Regions from separate parts of the Homo sapiens genome. Here region 2 is linked to region 1. Evidence: promoter capture Hi-C in human tissues and cell types (Jung and others, 2019). All regions are on one chromosome and are shown on one strand. The core of a region is centred on a gene start or on the middle of the fragment in contact, and the rest is flanking DNA. Distances in the headings are between cores, read along the strand shown. Region 1 holds the start of MOGAT2 (monoacylglycerol O-acyltransferase 2). Region 2 holds the start of KLHL35 (kelch like family member 35).

The links. The method cuts DNA at HindIII sites, captures the fragments that hold promoters and counts their contacts. A contact is called where the count stands out against the background at its distance.
Region 2: a contact is called between the fragment with the promoter of KLHL35 here and the fragment with the promoter of MOGAT2 in region 1, in 1 of the 25 tissues and cell types used here (liver).

Annotation. Positions count from the first base shown.
Region 1 is chr11:75,716,206-75,719,231 of GRCh38, reverse strand. MOGAT2 (monoacylglycerol O-acyltransferase 2) reads right to left here and starts at 1,394. Exons shown (of 6, transcript NM_025098.4): 1 at 1,253-1,394. The coding sequence starts at 1,343. It overlaps LOC105369392 (a long non-coding RNA gene), which reads left to right and starts at 947. Exons shown (of 3, transcript XR_950316.4): 1 at 947-1,026. The HindIII fragment of the contact is 18,092 bases long and covers 1-3,026 here.
Region 2 is chr11:75,431,803-75,434,878 of GRCh38, reverse strand. KLHL35 (kelch like family member 35) reads left to right here and starts at 1,676. Exons shown (of 7, transcript NM_001039548.3): 1 at 1,676-1,836. GDPD5 (glycerophosphodiester phosphodiesterase domain containing 5) reads left to right here. Exons shown (of 17, transcript NM_030792.8): 17 at 1-239. RefSeq lists an enhancer at 2,152-3,038. The HindIII fragment of the contact is 12,939 bases long and covers 1-3,076 here.

The sequences.
Region 1 (3,026 bases), core at 145-2,644:
GAATTCCCCTCTGACTGATGGTTTCTCAGCCCTTACTGGAGGCAAATCCTTGATTGTTTGGCTCATCTGTGCAAAGGGGGTATACAGGAATGTGTAAAATGTCTAAAAACCCTTAGAACAGAGACACAGCTCAACCAGAAGGGATGCTAGGGCAGGGTCCTGGAGGGCCTGCTTTGCCAAGGGGGAGTTTTTTCACTACAGAATTGTGGGGGAGTTTCTGAGGAAGTACGTGTGTGTGTGTGTGTGTGTGAGAGAGAGAGAGAGAAAGAGAGATGGCTACTGAGCAATGTGTTCAGAGTGTGTCAATATTTTAACAACCAGGAGAGTGGTATCTGTGTACAGGCTGAACCTCAGCCCTGGAAGCAGCAGTTCCTACCTTGTCTGGTGCCAGCAGATGAAAGGAAAAACCCCACGGACTCCTAGTCATTCTCCCTTCCCAAGCCACAGATCCAGACCCTCCTAGAAAATGTTACCTTTGGCAGAGCTATTGTTTGGGCAAGGGTGATCTCTCTGGCCACAAATCAGTGGTGGGGTGGGTAAGGGGCCATGCTCATGCCCTCCAGTGTGAGCCCAGCCCAGGGTCCAGGCCAGGTCTGTGCCAAGCAGAGGTCAGCACATTTCTTCATTTCCTTCACAATAGCCCTGCAAGGCCAGCATTGTTGTCCCCGTTCTGCAGATGGTGAAGTCGAGGCTTGGAGAGGTCAGGCATGGGCTGGCTAAAGTCAGTTGCCCAGCTGAGTCTGACTCCGGGTTTCCTGGTACCCAGCATGCCCACTCCACAGTCCACTCTCAGTCTGCACCTTCTCCCCACCCTTCTTTTCTTTCCCTGTTTCTCTCACTTACCCTACTACCAGCCCCAGTTTCCTCCTCCCTGAGCGCACAGAAGGAAATCTCTCCTCTCTGAGCAGGCTGCAGAGCCCAGAACTTTCCCGTCATCGCCCAGAGGCTTTCCCACACCACTTGGCAGCCTGCAGACTGGTCTTCATCCAAGTGCCAAAGGAGAACCCACAGTGCAAGCCAGGAAGAGTAAGTAACCTGCCCAGAGCAGCAGACGGTGACTTCTACCCCACTCCACCCCCAAGAAGCCTCTGGGCAGGCCCAGGAGTTCTCTCTGGGCAGGGGCTCTGAGCGCAACAAAGCCCCCTTTAGGATAAATGTCTTGCCACCATCAATGTGCTGTGTGCACCTGGTGTGGCTGCTCTGCCCCACCTGAGTGCGGTGGTCTCCCGTCTTACAGTGCAGCCCAACTTACCCAGTGCCAAGAAGGAGAAGACAAACTGTAGGACAGCAAGTGTCTGCAGCCTGCGCTCCCACGGCATAAACAAGGGCGCGAACTCTACCATGCTGGCGGGTCAGCCTGGCTCCCGCAGGTTCTGTGAGCTCTGCTGTGGTCTGAGGCACCCACAGGTTTTTGTTCCCTCCCCAGGTTGTAGAAGCTGGCAGGGAGAGTGCCACACCCAGCCCAGCCCAGCCCAGCCCCAAGGCCTCCTTGCCCCTGCTGAGGCAGGAAATTCTATCCTACAAGAAACCTTTGAATCTACCTGCTGGAGCCTGGCTAAGGAAGGAGGAAGAGAAGGGGTTGTATAGCCTTTATCAACTTTCTCAGGCAATGCCTTATCTGCATGGCTGCCTTTCCCCAATTGCTTAAATCTTGTCCTTCCTATAACTAGGCAGGTGAAGCCCCAAGCATATGCAATCTCACCCCCTTCCCACCTATTCAATGACCTGGCCCCAAGGTCAATGGATAGGATAACCTTGTCCTGTCCATTGTTCCCCCTCCACACATATGCTGTACTAACTCCCACCTAAAAATCCCCACCCACACTGTGTCCTCCACCTCCTGCCCCATTTTTCTGCTCACTCACACAGCAAACTCTCGGAAGAGCTATCTTTCATGCCTTCCTGTCCTCACCTCCCATCTGTGGTACCACAAATGGTGGTCCACACTTCAGGTATCACCCTTCCACAAAACTGCCCTTGGCAAGTTCCCTAGTGACCTCCATGATGTTAAATCCAGTAATCAATTCTCAGATCTCATCCTGACCTATTGGCAGCATTAGATATGGTTGATCATTCCCGTTTCTTTGAAACCACTTGGCCTTTGGACACTATGCTCTCCCAGTTTTCTTCCTAGCTCTCTGGCTGCTCCCTTTGTGCCTCTCGTCTTTCACCAGGCCAGCTGTTCGAGTCCCCCTCCTCCACTCCATCCTCGGGACTTCTCTTTTCTCTCCAGTTTCTGCTCTCTGAGATCTCATCCAGGCTCACACCTTGCATTGTATTTACACAGCAAAGACTTCCAAATCTGCATCTGCAGCTCTGCTCCCTGGGGCTCTAAACTTGAATCTCTAGGTGGCTCCTTGACATCTTCACTTGAATGCCTGATAGGCACCTCCATCGTAGCATGTCTAAAGGTGAACTTGATTCCCTCCCCCACCTCCCTTCTGCCCCACTGACTCCTCCTCTGCTCTTTCCCATCTCAGTAAAGGGTAATGCCATTTACCCAGTTGCTCAGGCCAAAACCTGAGTCACACTAGATCCCTTCTGTTCTTCTCCATCCACCTCTACCAGTCACCATGTCCTATCAGTTCTTCTAAGTCCCTCCTTTTAAATGTCAACTTCAAATTGACGTATACCATACATACGGAAAAATGCACAAATCCTAAGCGGACAGAGAAATGTCTTTTCACAAAGTGAAAGTTATCACCACTCTGATCGACAAACAGAACTTACCTAGCACCCCTTCTGGCCTTGCCAGTCACTGCTCTCCTCCCTGTAGCTCAGCACCATCCTCATCTCTGTTCTTGAACTTTATGAAAACTGAATCATTTAGTGTATACTCTTTTGAGACATCATATGTGCCTGTATTGCCTTTGTTTTCATTGCTGTATAGCATTCCATTGTGTGAATATGCCACAAAGTGTCCATTTGGACGCTGACAGGCATTTGGGCTGTCACCTGTTTCTGGCTATTATGAATATTGCTGCTACGAACATTCCTGTACATGTCTTTCAGTACACATCTATACA
Region 2 (3,076 bases), core at 427-2,926, 280 kb after region 1:
GTGAGCTCAGGACTACTGGATCCCATGCCCAGGTGTCCAGCAGACCTCAAGGCAGAAGGGTCACCTAACCCAGGAGTCCACAGACTGATGTGACCTCAGGTTCCCACATCAGTGGCCACAGGGCAGGGCCCACCTGGTAGAAGTGTTCTGGATATGGCCAGGGTGGGTGTGTGGCTAAGTGGGCCTGAACAGAGGGAACCTAGGGCCCTTGGCCAATGTGATTAAAGCTGCCATCTTGATGTGTGTTGTCTCTGAATTGCCAGCAGGAGGGTGGGGACAAGTGCGCTGGGTCTAGGTTTCAGTTCTGACCCTATAATCTGAGGAGGAACCATTCTCAGGAATGAATGGGAAAGTGGCAGAATGGTGCCTCCCCTTCCCTGGGTCCGCCATGGTGCCAGTGGCTGGGAGCCGGTATCCTCATATGGTGGATGGGGAGACAGTCTTGGAGAGGTAAAGTGACCTCCAAAAGCCACACAGCTTAGAACAGGCCAAGCCAGAATCCCATCCAGACTCTGGCCCCAGCGCATATGTGTGCCTCCCATAAGCTAGGAATGACACGCAGAGGGGGAGGGCTCCTGGGTCCAATGTAGGGCTGGGAGTGGGACTGGCAGGTGCCCTCACAGCCACATGAAGGCATTCTGAACCTCCCGGCTATGTTGGGACAAGCCCTCAGCACAGGGAGGCCTCTTCCCCATGCCAGGAGTTTGGCTTTGACTTCTCCGAGCTTTGGACCTGCCTGAGGAGGGCCCATGCCCATGCCCAGGACTGGGGGCACCTGAGCTGAAAGCCAAAGTACAGCCCTGGGACCACAGGTGTCCTTTCCTTCCAGTCCTTGGGACCTCTGCTGTCTGTGGGCAGGAGTCAGTGGTGGTGTCAGAGCAGGCCTGTAACTCCCCTCTTTGTCCTGAGAGTCTGCCTGGTCATGGGTGTGACCTGAGGGAAAAGGGGGAAGCTGAGCCCCAGCTCCAGCCTGCATCAAATTAACTCCATGCTTCCTGGGAGCCAAGGGACGTGTCTCTTCCAAACAGGGATCTTCTGGATAGAATTCTTGGGGTCTAGGAGATTCTGGCACCTTATAGGTAAAAAAGAAAAGAGCCCTCTGCAAATGTTGGAAGCTCCACTGGGCCCCCACAGTAACCTCGAGGACCGGCCCTCCTGCCCCTGCTACTGAATGTCTGGCAAGTGCTCTGCTTCCTGGGGCAGAGGTCAGCTCCCGCCTCTCCCTGAGCTCAAGGGAATGAGACTCAGAGCCACTGTGCCCCCCGCCCCACATGCTTAGTCACATTGGCATCTACATGGTCACACAGCCACATGTCCACACGCAGCCCAATGCTACACAGTCACTTCATTCCATGTACTTCCACAATCACGCATAGTCACCCTGAAACCTACATGCCTACAACTGCATGATGACACCCCTCCCACACCCCAACTCCAGCACCACACACCTTCGAACCCATCGTCATTCCGGGACAAGGCCAGCACCAGGTCACCCCCAAACCCAGGCATACCAAATCCTGGAGTTCCACACACAGTCAATCCCACTCTTATGCCCCCCCTTTCTTTCCCTCCCTCCCAGGGCTAGTCCAAGAGTGGAACAAAAGCCCAGCATCCCCCTCCCTGCTCGCTTCTCCCTTCCCCTCCCTTCCCCTCCCTCCTGGCGTCCAGCCCCTTTGTCCTCCCGCAGCTGAGCCCGAGCGAACAGCAAACGGGAGTCTGGGCAGAGCAGCATGAACACTGGAGCTTGGGCTGCCAGGGGTGCGGGCGGCAGGCACAAACGGGAGTGATACCTGTGAGAGCAGCAGCTGCGGAGCACTTGGGAGAGGGTATGGCCAGGTAAGTGCCAGGTGCATGGGGCAAGGCTTAGGCTGCAGGGCTGACCCGGCTGCGTGGTGTCCGCAAGTCTGAGATGGGGAGGATGCGGAGGAGGTGCTTGGGTAATGGCTTCAAGTGGATGTGGGTGTGTAAAAGAGTGATGGTGGCATGTTCGAGTCAGCTTCTATAGGCTGGGCCCTTCAATCTGCATCATGACCCCTGGCTTGAAGTGCCTAGACTCAGCCGAGAAGGGAGGATACCCATTGAGCCCTACCTGGGAATTTTTACCTTCTGTGTTCCAACTGGGTGTCGTTTGACCCCCAGACTGGGGATCCCCAGAGTGAATGCTGGATCTGATGTCACTGTGTGTCCAGAGTGCCCAGCGCAGTAGACAGTAAAATGAAAAAGTACTGACACACTTCCTAGGAGGGGACTCTTTCTCCCCCAGGGAGCTGCTTGTGCTGTGGGGCACCTTTGCAAGAAGTCCATCCTTATGCTGATGAGACCTGCCCTCTTGAGTCTCAACTCAGAGCATGGTTGTGCTTTCTGAGCCAGTGGAGGACAGACTGGTTGCAGCGTGCTGTGATGACCGGTCTCACTTCCTTCCACCGGTCCTGGCTGCTCCTTGGGACACACCCCCACCCTGGCAAGTGTGGCATGCAAACCCTGGAGCCAGGTGGATTCAGGATCCAGTCGCTCTACTTGGGCAAAAGTAGTTAACTTTCTTGCCCACCAGGGAGCTCATCTCTCATGATGCTGACCAGGGGATCCGCTGCCCTGGATGACCAGGGCATGAAAGCCAGGCTGACACTAGGCGGGATCTGACCTCCAGAGGCAGCAGAGCAGCTGGGAGCAGGAGGATGGAAGGAGAGGCAGGGCGCAGAGGGTGGACCTGAGCCCCCTAGAGTAAGCTGATGGAAAGGAGGGAGCTCCCTGTCCCTGGAGGTGTGCAAGCAGAGGTTTTGTGTTCATAATGGCCAAATCATAACCAGCATGGCCCAGCCCCTCAGTCTGCAGAGCGCCTTCACAAACACCCCTCTGCTGAGCCTCGCCGCAAACTTCTGAAGGGCGGGTGTCCTGTGTGTGCTTGTTTCCCTTATGACAAACTAAAGGGGCAGGTGTGGGCTAAAGAAACTTCTCAGCTTGTGAGGATGAAATTAAATTATGTCTATAAAAGCAACTGGCACACACAGTGTCCTCCCTTCCTCTTGAGTAAAAGCAATATAGGGAAACACCCATGTAGCTCGTACTGTGTACTAGC